Linked DNA regions of Homo sapiens: region 1 is linked to region 2. The links are contacts of gene promoters, found by promoter capture Hi-C in blood cells and fetal thymus (Javierre and others, 2016). All regions are on one chromosome and are shown on one strand. The core of a region is centred on a gene start or on the middle of the fragment in contact, and the rest is flanking DNA. Distances in the headings are between cores, read along the strand shown.

What was found. Contacts are between HindIII fragments. The CHiCAGO score rates a contact against its expected background, and 5 or more counts as called.
Region 1: a contact is called between a fragment that was not itself captured here and the fragment with the promoter of MOB3C in region 2, in 1 of 17 cell types (monocytes). The highest score is 6.5, in monocytes.

Annotation. Positions count from the first base shown.
Region 1 is chr1:46,365,301-46,371,845 of GRCh38, reverse strand. It overlaps a transcript of NSUN4 not described here. Among named protein-coding and RNA genes, the nearest start is that of FAAH, 26 kb to the left of the region's middle. The HindIII fragment of the contact is 730 bases long and covers 4,129-4,858 here.
Region 2 is chr1:46,613,780-46,620,150 of GRCh38, reverse strand. It overlaps MOB3C (MOB kinase activator 3C), which reads left to right and starts at 3,340. Exons shown (of 4, transcript NM_201403.3): 1 at 3,340-3,440. RefSeq lists a silencer at 3,166-3,445 and enhancers at 3,846-3,915, 6,267-6,371. The HindIII fragment of the contact is 4,243 bases long and covers 388-4,630 here.

The DNA.
Region 1 (6,545 bases), core at 3,244-5,743, 250 kb after region 2:
AGTGTGTGGCACCCCCCGCCCACCTCCACCCCCACTTGCTTGCTCCTGCTTTTGCCATGTGACAAGCCTGTTCCCCCTTCACCTTCATCATGATTGAAAGCTCCCTGGTCAGGCGCGGTGGCTCACACCTGTAATCCCAGATTGTTGGGAGGCCGAGGCGGGGGGATCACGAAGTCAGGAGTTTGAGACAAGCCTGACCAACATGGTGAAACCCCGTCTCTACTAAAAATACAAAAATTAGGCTGAGCACGGTGGCTCACGCCCATAATCACAGAACTTTGGGAGGCCGAGGTGGGCGGATCACGAGGTCAGGAGATCAAGACCATCCTGGCTAACATGGTAAAACCCCGTCTCTACTAAAAATACAAAAAAATTAGCCAGGCGTGGAGGCAGGCACCTGTAGTCCCAGCTACTCGGGAGGCTGAGGCAGGAGAATGGCGTGAACCCAGGAGGTGGAGCTTGCAGTGAGCTAAGATCGCACCACTGCACTCCAGCTTGGGCGACAGAGCAAGACTCCATCTCAAAAAAAAAAAAAAAGTAAAAAAGAAAAATTAGCCAGGCGTGGTGACAGGCACCTGTAATCCCAGCTACTCGAAAGGCTGAGGCAGGATAATTGCTTGAACCTGGGAGTCAGTGAGCCACGATCAGACCACTGCACTCCAGCCTGGGCAACAAAGCAAGACTCTGTCTCAAAAAAAAAAAAAAAAAAATCAAGGTGGCAATGTTATGCTGGTGGTTAAGGACAGAGCCTCTCCTACCACAGTGCCACTGACTTGCTATGTGACCCTGGGCAAGTCACTTAACTCTAATATGCCTCAGTTTTCTTCTGTTAAAATGGGGATAATAATACTGAGCTACCTCAAAGGGCAGTTTTGAGGCATGACTAATGCTTTTTATAAAGCATTTTGGGATCCTTCAGCAAAGGAATTCTCAAGACCTGAGTATTTTTTATAATAACAATGTCCACCATGAACTTGATCTGTCTGTGTGTCCCGGAAGCTATCATTAGTCTATATGGTTCTCTAAGAGACTGAATGAATCCATTGGAGAAGTGGTGGATAACTAGCCGGAGAAAATTTGAGAATGCTTAAACTCATTCCCATGGAAACATACACAGGACACCTTTTCTTTGATGAGGTGGGATTTTTCCCTTTTTATGTGGCATACTAGTAATTTGTGACCTAAGAATAATTTTGGAATAATTTCTATTAATATCAACTCTGAAGTTAGTTATACTGATCTGAGATTGTGTTTGTTCATAACAAAAGTGAAATGAATCTGGAAAAAAAAAAAAAAAAAAAGACAGCACCTCTGTGCACATTTCATTGGCTAAAGCAAGTCACGTGGCTATGCCTACCTGCAGAGGGAGTGGGGAAGGCAAGCCTACTACATGTCCAAGAGAAGGAGTAACTAAGTACTCCTTTGTGAGAAGTCCTAAGGCTTATCATACCCACAAATTGACTTCATGACCACTAATGATTCATGGTTGTGAGCGATAATTCAGAAAACACTCATTGAAAGGTTTCGTATGCTAACCTACAGTCTGGCTCACTACAACTTCCTTCTACTGGTCCCAGCTCTGCCCCTGGGGATACTCAAAACACATCTGCTTCCCCTGCCTCAGAACAGTCCTAGTTGGAGACAACATCTCTCTTCCCTAAGTCTGTCTTTCTCCTGGCGAAATACTCCCAATTCCCCCAGTTCTCCCCAGAATGAGACTTTCAGTTTCCTCTCCATCCCAGTCACCCTCTTCAGCCAGTACACCTCCTAAAGTGTCACCTCAAAATATGGTCTGAACAGCTTGGAGCTCAAAAGTTCCCATTTACTCAGAGAGATAAGGCTGAGTAAACTTAAGGACAGGACTGACTTTCAGAAGCAATTTCTGTAGAGCCAGTTATTTAACTTCCTCATTCAGTAAATTCTGATAATCATATTCCCACTGGGGGGCCCATGAAATCTGATCAGATCATTTTCCACCTTAAAACTCCGACAATGGCTTCCAGTTACTCAGGATGGAATACCTATTCCTTCAAGTGGCCCAGAAAGCCCTGTTGTAGGTTGGCTTCTGCCTGCTTCTCCAGCCTTGTGTTTCACAACCATTCCTTTCTCCTTACACTGCAGGATACTGGACCTCTTTCAGAATCTAGAATGTCCTCTTTCCTGACTTCACATTCACACGAACTGTTCCCTCTGCTAGGGCACTCCCAACATCCTCCTCTGCCTCACTAATTTAACTCCTCTTTATCTTCAGCTCTGTTTAAACATCTCTTCCTCCAGGCGAGGTTAGGTCCCTCAGGTATATGCACTTTACATTTCTCTCAGTACTTGGCTCACTCATAATTTACTTATAACTAATTGTAATTGCTTGTAATTTACTTGTAATTACTTGTCTATCTTGCCCACTAGATTGTACATCCCATGAGAACAAGGACTTTTTTCTGCTCTGTTCACCACTCTAGCGTCTACAGTTAAGCCTAGCACATAGGAGGTACTCAAATATATACTAACTACCAAATAGGTACTAAGCATGTTGGTACTTGGGGGTTAGGGATGCAAAAATAAATACCAGCTTACTGTCCCTAACAATTCCTAGTTTGGAGATGGGTAAAGAAGAAAAAGTGGCCATGGAAAGTGCTATATTCATTGTATTATAGAGAAGGTTGGGGAGCACAGAAGAGGATCAACCCAGCTTTAGAAGGATTAGAGAAAGCTTCCAGAGGGGTGGACATTTGAGCTAGCAAGAAAGCACAAGGGAAAAGGCATTTAGACAGAGGAGACAATTTGTCCTGACCCAGAAGCATTGGGGTATGCTATGCATGGATAGACAAAGAATTTGTGCAAAAGGGGAGCAGCAAGGCATGACAGACACAGATAAAACAGCATCAACAACCAGGGATCAGGGCAAAAGTCTGGACTTGATCCTGCTGGCAATGGAGAGAGAACAAAGGATCTTTCTGTAAAAATGGGTTCTCCCTATGTTGCTCAGGCTGGTCTCAAACTTCTGGCTTCAAGCGACCCTCCTGCCTTGGCCTCCAAAAGTGCCGGGATTACAGGCATGAACCACCATGCCCAGCCTAAAGAACAAAGAATTATAAGCAGATGAATGACACTCAGATTTGTGTTACTTACTAACACAAATGACATATGTTAAAATTTTATTTAAATTTACTTAACCATTTCCAAAACTTACTGGCTTAAAACAACCACTACTTTATTTGTTCATGATTCTGGAGGTCAGCGATTTAGGTTGGTCTTGGCTGGGGTCACTCATGCTGTTTGGGTCACCTAACCGTTTAACTGAGCTTAGGAGGTCTAAGACAGCTTCCAGCACATGTCTCCAGCAGATTGGTCCAGGCTTCTTCACAGAGCCGCAGAAGAGCTCCAAAATGAGCGTGGAAGTTGCGAGGCTTCTTGAGGCCTACATGCAGAAGTTGCACAGCATCCCTTCCACCAGACTTTACTGGTCAAAACAAATCATAAGATCAGCCCAGATTCAAGAGGTGGGGAAACAGACTCCATCTCTTAATGACAGAAGCAGCAAAGTCACATTGTACTGGGACAGGATGGGAGGAATTATTGTGATCGGCGATCACACAACAGATAAGGGGTGGCATGAGAGGATGGGGGAGAATGGAAGAATTTAGGGCTGATTGGAGTAATAGAAATGAGTTTTGAGGCTACTGCCTTTGATCAGTGAGAAATGATAAGGCCCTACCTAAGGTAGGAATGCTAGGAAGGAGAGAAATATAAGCGACATTTCAAGAAAGGAATTTCAGATTGTGGCTGGGCGCAGTGGCTCATGCCTGTAATCCTAGCACTTTGGGAGGCCAAGGCAGGCTGATCACTTGAGCTCAAGAGTTCAAGACCAGCCTGGGCAACATGGCGAAACCCCATCTCTACTAAAAATACAGAAATTAGCCAGGCGCGGTGGCATGTGCCTGTAGTCCCAGCTACTCAGTAGGCTGAGGCAGGAGGATCACTTGAGCCTGGGAGGCGGAGGTTGCAGTGAGCCGAGATCACACCACGGCACTCCACCCTGGTGAGAGCCAGACCCTGTCTTAAAAAAAAAAAAAAAAAAAAAAGAAATTTCAGATTGTAACTTTTTGAGTTACTTAAGCAATCTAAGCTTGTTTCCTTCTCTATAAAATGGGACTAAAAAGAGTATATCAGCTGACTCTGGATTTGCTGCCTATGAGTTAGCCTTACTCTGCAAGGAGCAGTACTGTTCAATAAAAGATTGCTGTCTAACACCACTAGCTTGCCCTTGAATTCTTTCCTGGCTTTCTCCCAGGCTAAGCCCCAGTTTTGAGGCTTGCCTGCCCTGCAATAAAAACACACCATAAAAATAGTGCAAAGAAAAGCCACAAAATGGATGAAAATGTTCAAATTAACGAATAACTCTTTCAAAGTTTTATAATAAATAGGCAACAACAAAAAAGAGCATATCCCAGGGTTTCTGTGAAAGTAAGAAACAATGATGTAAGTAAAACAATGCTTTTTTCACATGGGCCTGGCTCAGGTACGTTCGATATACAGTAGTGATTACTGTCACTGCATCAAGGATAGCTGCAGTTTCTGGCATGGGCAGCAGGGTAAAGGGTGGTGTTAAGTTTGGAGATGAAGAATGCAGATGGGAAGAAGGGCAGATTGGCAGGGGTGAGAGTGGTGATTTGAGTTGTTACTGGGGTCTCTGCTTGACCCCCTTGCCTTCCACTAAAGACCCTCAAATCTGAGATCTTCTAATCCAAAGGTTCTTAACTTGGGGGAGATAGGCCTTAGGAAGTACCAAAGCCCCTGAAATTATATGTAAAATGCTATGGTGTTTTTTGTCTTTATTTTTCTGAGAACGGCCAAAGCTTTTACCAGTCTCTCAAACAGATTTGTGACTCCTAAAAGGTGAAAACCATAGATCCAAGCTATCAATGTATATTGACCCATAACTGCCCCAATACCTGACCCTCTGCTGTGGTTCAACTGTTGCAAATCACAAGGAAAGAGGAGCTCATGAACAAGACTGAGGCAATACTGCTAAGCTTCCAGGTCTCTCAATATGATCCCTCCTACATTAAGCCATATTTTGCATTATTATTCTCTGTGGGCTTGGTTCTCTACCCACTTTTTTTTTTTTTTTTTTTTTTTTTGTATTTTTAGTAGAGATGGGGTTTCACCATGTTGGCCAGCCTGGTCTCGAACTCCTGACCTCAGGTGATCCACCTGCCTTGGCCTCCCAAAGTACTGGGATTACAGGCATGAGCCACCATGCCACCATGCCCAGCCAACCCCCTTCTCTTTTTTTAGGGAGACCTCAGATGTACAAAATTGAATTAATCATAATCTTTGTTTATAACATACTTTTATCACTTTTGTCATGAATAACAAATTTTTATGTATAACTTTTTATTAACTTAGCTGCTTTTAATAATTCAATAAGCACCAAACATAAAAGCTAGAGCCTTAACAATAATCTAACTTTATGTTCCCTCCAGCCCCATCCTATCCCCCTACCTCTAAGAACCATTATACTGAATTCCATAGTGAGAACCATTCTTTCCTTCTTACATGGTTTTACTGCATACATGTTCTTTTTACATGTTTTTAAATTCTTAATTGTATTTAATTTTATAGCATCACTACTCATTAGAGAAATGCAAATTAGGACCACAACGAGGTATCAAGATACATCCACTAGAATGAAGTTTTTATTTATTATTTATTTTTGAGACAGAGTCTCCCTCTGTTGCCCAGGCTGGAGTACAGTGGTGCAATCCCAGCTCACTGCAACCTCTACCTCCTGGGTGCAAGTGATTCTCATGCCTTAGTCTCCCAAGTAGCTGGAATCACAGGTATGTGCCACCACACCCGGCTAATTTTTGCATTTTTAGTACAGACGGGGTTTTCCCATGTTAGCCAGGCTGGTCTTGAACTCCTGACCTTAAGTGATCCGCCCGCCTCGGCCTCCCAAAGTACTGGGATTACAGACATAAGCCACACTGCCCGGCCCACTACAATAAAGTTTAACGTTGATAATCCTAAGTGTTAGTACTAAGATGTGGAGCAAATGGACCTCTCATACATTGCTGATGGCCGTGCAAAATGGTAGATCCACTTTGGAAAACAGTATGGTGGTACCTTATAAAGTTAAACATACATTTACCATATGACCTAGCAATTCTACCCCTAAGTATTTACTCAGAAGAAAACATGGGCTGGGCACAGTGGTTCACACCTGTAATCCTAGCACTTTGGGAGGCCGAGGTAGGTGGATCATCTGAGGTCAGGAGTTCGAGACCAGCCTGGCCAACATGGCGAAACCCCGTTTCTACTAAAAATACAAAGAAATTAACCAGGCATGGTGGTGGGTGCCTGTAATCCCAGCTACTCAGGAAGCTGCAGCAGAAGAATCGCTTGAACCTGGGAGGCGGGGGTTGCAGTGAGCTGAGATTGCACCATTGCACTCCAGCCTGGGCAAAAGAGTGAGACTCCATCTCAAAAAATAAAAAAAGAAAAGAAAACACGTACTCACAAAATTATATGCCCAAAAGGTA
Region 2 (6,371 bases), core at 2,091-4,590:
AGGTGAACTGAGGGTGCAGTATCTTATTCTGGGGGGCAGGGTGGGAGTGGGGGAGCTTTCTTGGCATAGGAAGGGCTGGGGAGTCCCCAGGAAGTGGCCACTCTGTATCAGTAGAGTCACTGGATACAGGCCTACAGCGGGAAGGCACAGGAAGCTGGTTCTGATAAGGTACTTGGAGTGGTACTTCGTATGGCTAGAAGATGCTTTCATGGTAGAGGTGTAGAAACTAAGGCCCAGAGAGGGGCAAGGGCTTTCCCAAAGGCACACAGCAGGTAGACACCACCCTGCTGCCACTCAGAGTTCCCACTGCGAGGGGGGCATGTGCCCAGGCTGAGTAGTGGAAAAGGGCACGTCCTCTCCTAGGTCCTCACTGGCTCACGCCAAGCTTCAGAGATGAGCCTTGTTTGAAGTCTTCTGGAGCCATTTATCATACTCAAGACACAGTGGCAGGGAACAGAGCCCATCTTGTGTAGGTCTCCAGTGCTGGAGGGTTACAGTGTCTCATCAGAGAGGGCAGAACCATCCCAAGGCCACACAGCTAAATTACGGTAAAGCCAGGACACTGTTCTCCAAGGTCTGGGTCTTTTCAGCCCCAGCAGAGCCTCCTAGAAGAACTAGTCTCTCTAACCAAGACTGAGAAGGGCAGGAAGAGGGTACAGGTAGTTGAGAGATCTGGGCTCTCTCGCTTCCCCCAACCCTTCCACCTGCCTCCCATCCCACAGACACCCAGGGACTCTGAGGATGAGCTGGGAATTTCTGATGTTCCTTCAAAATGGATCATCTCTATTTCCCACAGTGTAAGGTTCTGTGCTGTTCACTCTTCACCAGAAAAACTCCTGCCTATCCTGTAAAACCCAGCTCAGAGGTCCAGAAAATGACCCTGCACAAAGCCTCTGCAGAGGAAGTCACATCAAATTCTGAAGAATCTTCCAGACCATGATCTCTGACCACAATGCAATATAATTAGAACTCAACAAGAAAAACATAAACCTCCCATAGGCTGAGAAACTGAAAAACATACTTTGAAATCATTCAAGAGTTAAAGAGGAAATTACACTGAAATTTATGAACTATTTAGAACTGAATGATAAGGAAAACACAAGCAGTTTCCAAATCATTTCCCCTATGAAGTCAGCCCTGACCCCACATGGCTCCTCAGATGGCTCTCCACCCTCTACCCATTTCTACGCCCTAGGAGGCTGACGTCTATGGGCTGCAGCAACAGGTTCCCTTGTTCTTAGCTTCTGGGAGGATTCAGCTAGTGGGGGAAACCTGGCCAGAGATCAGACGGAGGGAGAGAGGGAGGAGAGTGAGGCCTCTTACTTGCCCCCTGTCCTTCCCTGTATGATTGCTGTGAGCTGGGTATGCCCCTCCACCTTAGGCCACAGCAGCGCCCTCCTCATAGCTCCCACTTTCACCATTCCTTCCCCACACTCCTGCAGCCTGGGGTTGACAGCCTCTGCTCTTGTGAGCCCTTTGGTGATACACTGTGTGGTTTCCCTACACCTTGACCATACCTGTAAATAATGTCTTCATTAAACATACCCATTCTGGGTGTTCCATGTGCTTCCTGCAAATACCCCGACTCTTACAAAGTCCGTCAGTCCACAACCACATTCTCACTTCTGGGTGACTGAGCTGTGACCTTGTGTATCTCTGTGTGTTGTCCCCTTTACTGACCTGTCAGCACCTGAGGTCGGCAACCAGGTCAGCTTTATCACCCAGTCCCCTGATCTGATATGAGTGGAGAGTTATACTCAATAAAAGATATTGATTAGGATATCAAATAAATAAAGAAGCATAGTTTAATTTGCTCCATAAGCAAGTGTTTGTTTATAGGGGATTCAGGGCAGAGAGTTAAGAGTCAGACATAAAAATACAGAGAACTTTAGACTGGGGCAAAAATTGGTGCTCAACAAAAGAACATACCCACAGTTCTATGAGCTGGGATTCTTTCTTTACTTTTATTTTAGGTTCAAGGGTACATGTGTAGGTTTGTTATATAAGTAAACTCTGTGTCATGGGGATTTGGTGTACAGATAATTTCATCACCGAGGTAAGCAGCATAGTACCTGATGGGTATTTTTGTCTCATCCTCCCTCCTCCCGCCCTCCACTCCCAAGCAGGCCCCAGTGTCTGCTGTTCCCCTCCTAGTATCTATGTATTCTCATTGTTTAGCTCCTACTTGTAAGTGAGAATATGCAGTATTTGGTTTTCTATTCCTGTGTTAGTCTGCTTAGGATAATGGCCTCCAGCTCCAGCCCATGTTGCTGCAAAGGATATGATCTGGGTTAAGGATCTAGCGTGTTCTCATGTCATCCAGCAACAGAAGGTCCAGACACAAGGGAGGTCCAGTGTGCCATGGTAAATGCCCACCTCTGGCCTCCAGCTCTCCCCTACCCGCATCTACTCACCTCCCACCCCTCCAGAGTGGCTTCTATGGCTAAGCTCTCTGCTTTGGGCTTCCTACCCTAGAAAGCCTCCAATCTTCCCTCCCATCCCAGACAGAGCAGCCAACTGGTCCCTGGGCCTGGGGGCCACGGTGTGCATTGAATGCTGGTGGGATATCTGTCTGTCCTCGAAGGAACCCAGGTGGTAGGGAGAGCAGATCAGATCTTGAGTGGTTTGGATTTGTCAGAAGGAAGGAGGGAGAGAAGGTATTCTAAAATGGAACAGCTGGGATAAGGGTCTGGAGATAAGAAATGGGGTGACTCTGGGTAAGGAGCAAGGAGAATCAGCCCAACCTGAGCCAGGCCCCCTCCCTGGTGAGGAGATGAAGTTTGTGATTTGAGCGCTCTTCTGGGGCTTGTCCCTCAGGGGTGAAGGACTCAGCTCATGATTCCCAAGGCGTTCATTTATTCCTTCACTCACCCATTCATTCATTCATCAAGTGGGTTTTGAGTTCCTGCTATGTGCCAGGAGCTGAGGATATGGGAGTGGATAGGACGGTCCCGATCCCTTATTGGGTCCCGGGACAAGTGTGACGCAGACGATTCTAGGAGGGCAAAGAAACCACCCTTATCTAGCAGCTCTTGTTTCTGCTCCAGAAGAAGCCGAGCGTTTTCCCATTTTACTGTCTGGGAACTTGAGGCTGCCTCCTTGGTGGAGGTCCAAGGAAGCACCGAGAGGGCGGGCAGCTCAGTTAGTCCTTTGTCCAAGGGGAAGCTGGGAGCCCCATATGGACTTTCCGGGAAGGTGGGGGCGAGTGCGTCTGTGTACTGGAGTGGAGGGGAGTCCCCTTTCTCCGCCCCTCCCCGCCCCGTGGCCGCGGCGTGGCGGGGCCGGGGCGGAGCTGGCGTCGCCCGGGGCAGGAGGGCAGCCGCGGCCGGCAGGACAGGCAGACGGACAGGCTGACAGGAGAGAGAACAGGCACTGCGGGACCTGCAGGAGAAAGGCGATCCTGTGGCTGGGAATGTGACCCCACGGCCAGAAGAGGACCCGTGAGTGTGCGCCGTGCCCCTGCGGCCTCGCCGCGCACCCCGCCCGCCTGGCTTCCACTTTCATTTCTTCGGCCGTCCTGGCGTGGCACAGTCCGGAGGAGAGTCCCGCCCGAAGGCAGGCTGGCCGCTGTCCTGAGGCTGGCGTCCGAGGCTCAGAGCTTCGAAAGTTGCGGGGGGGATTGTCGGGGTGGGGGAGTACGGGGCAGAGGGGAGGGGTTGGGGGGCGTGTTTTCGGGGAGCGGAAATGTCAGGCGGGCTCCTCTGGGTCCTACGACCTTCCTGGCCCTGGGAGCTGGTTTGAGGTTGCAGGGAAGCCGGGGGTGGGCGTGGGTGGCTGCGCGCCGCGAGGAGAGCGTGGAGTCTTCGCCTCTACTTTTTCTCTTCGACCTCTGTCCTAGAGAGAGTCCCAGGATGGATTCTGGGTTCAAACTGGGGCCATCCTCTGGCCCAGATCCTGGGCCAGGCCCAAGGAGTGGTAGATGTAGCCTAGCAGGGGGCTAAATATCAGAAACAGGTAGGGTCAGCCTGCTGTCTTCATTTGAGAAGCCCAGATCCGCACCCAGGGAACGAGCAAGGCACTGCCACTCCAGGAGTGAAAGGATAGCCATCACTGGGAAATGGGGGCTAGGACGGGGAACGGCAGTGGTTCAGGGAGAGACAGAGGTTCTGTGACAGATAGAAACTCAGTGAGGGCATGGGGGTGGGGAGTGAAGGGAGTTAACCCTGTGGCTAGAAGAGCACCTGCCCTGCACCCACCCCCTGAGCTTACATTTTCCTGGAAAGAGACCCAGGCCTTGAAGTTCCACAGGAGTAAGGTGGAACTCTAGCTCACTGGTCAGGACACCCCAGTTGCTGTGCGGAGTCAGTGTGTTGGGGACAGGAAGCAGGTTGGGCTGTTTGGTGGAGAAGATGCTTCCACTGTCCCTCCACTCCCCTCCTCTTCTCTGTCTCCACCAGACCATTGATGAGCCAGTGCAGGAAAATGGTCTTTTACTCTTGGTCATGAGCTGAGCCCCACCTTATCCCAGTTCCCAGTTCTGCTTGTAACTTGCTATGTGGACACAGGCTCCTCAAGTCCTCTTTTTAGGCCTCAGTTTCCTCATCTGGGCCTCAGTTTCCCCATCTGTACAAGTGAGTTGGGCCAGCTGATCTATCAGGGCTATTTTAACTCTAAGATTCTAGTCTAAGCTTTCCTTAAAGCCTGAACACTGACTTTGTGCCAGGCCTTGTCCTAAGCTGGGGGTGGGTTGGGGATGGAGTGGAGACTGCAATGACCAAAAGCAGCCTCTACCCAAGGAGAAGGAGATCTGAGTTCAGGAGAGGAGGCTGTGGGAGGAGGTAGCAGCCAATCTGAGGATGTGTGGTCAGGCAGGTGGAGGGATAAGAAAACATGCAGAGGCAAAAGAGTGGGGGCGTGTTCAGGAATCAGGAAGAAGCCCAGGGTGGTTGGTGTGGGGAGGTGGGAAGTGGGGCAGGAAAGGTAGGACAAGGTGCTGAATGCCAGGGTGGGGGCCTATTTCTAACTGTCATAAAGGGGGCCATGCAATGTGGGGAGCCCAGGAGCCCCGCCTAATTGCAGTGTGAGGGATTTTGGAAGCACTTGCCCCAAGCAGAGTTTAAAATGGAGATGGCAAATGAAGCGCAGAAATCTCTTTGCTCTGGAAACTGGGGTCCCACCCTGGGGACTTCTTTGGGTGAGAAGTCGAAGAGTCGGGATGGATGAGATGACCTTTCACATCTGTGAGTTTTTTTCAAGAGAACAAGTTCCTGCTGAATGGCCTGTTTCTACTCTCCAAGCTGCTCTCATTTTACCAGACTGCCCCCATCCTGGCCTGCCTTTGTGGGTTCAAGGAAGGACCTTTGTCTCAAACAGCTCCCCAGCTAGTTTGACTTCTTGCCAGAAGTAATACCCCTCCCCGAAATATGTGCCATCCCTTTGCTTTTACCCAGGTGTCACCTGGTTCCCACCCTCCCTTCCCCAATCCTGTCCCAGGGTTACCAGAGATGTGAGAAAGGACAGTGCTCCAGCGTCAGAGGTCAAGCCCAGGCTTTGGCCATAAGCAAGCCTCAGGGTAGGGCTAAAGGCTAGAGTCAGGGCTCACACTTGCCAGAGCCCAGGTCAGAGGTCAGCCAGGAACCAGAATGCAATTCTTAGCTTATACTCAGCCTTAGTGCTCAGTCTAGGGGCAGGGGCAGTGTGCTTAGTGGGTGGCTAAATTCTAGTTTTGGTAGGTACATGGGTCTGCATTTCCCAGTAGCTCACACACTCACAGTTGAGATGAGATGACTCAGGTCTTAGAAACCTAGCTATAGCAGAGTGACCCAGGACCTGGATGGGCTAAATCCATGGTGATACAGGGGTCACCCAGTAAGCCAGTGGTAGAGCTGGGACTAGAACCCAGGACTCCTGCCTCTGAGCCTAGGGCCCTGATCACTGTCTCCCAAAATTTGTTCTGAATCTGGGATCCTTAAATTCTAGGAGGCAAAGTAAATTTGCCTGAGCTCTAGATGGGCCCTCCTGGGTGCATCTGACTATACTCTTCTACCTCCCAGTGCCAGGCACATAGTAGTTGCTAGAGGAATGTCTACTGAGTGTCAGGTGCAACGGGAGGAGCCAGTGGCTTGTTCAGATTTGGGGCTGGAGGAGGCTGGCTTGAGGGGAAGGATCTCCAGCTGTTGTCAGAGGAAGCGACGCCCTCATTGGCCTGCCGCCCTCCCCCTCCTCCAGTGCTTGCAGCCACACTCAGAAGCCGCCCAGCTGGCAGCGGGAGGGCCCTTTCCTCTTTCAGGGTGAAAAAAAAGGAAAGGACATTTTTGGTAGAAAAGTTCCCTGCTGCTCCCTGGGAATCCCCGGTGGCCGGATGGACTACGGGATATCCCAGAGGAAGCCGAAAGCCACCCCCGACCCCCCTCCACCCTGCCCCCAGCACA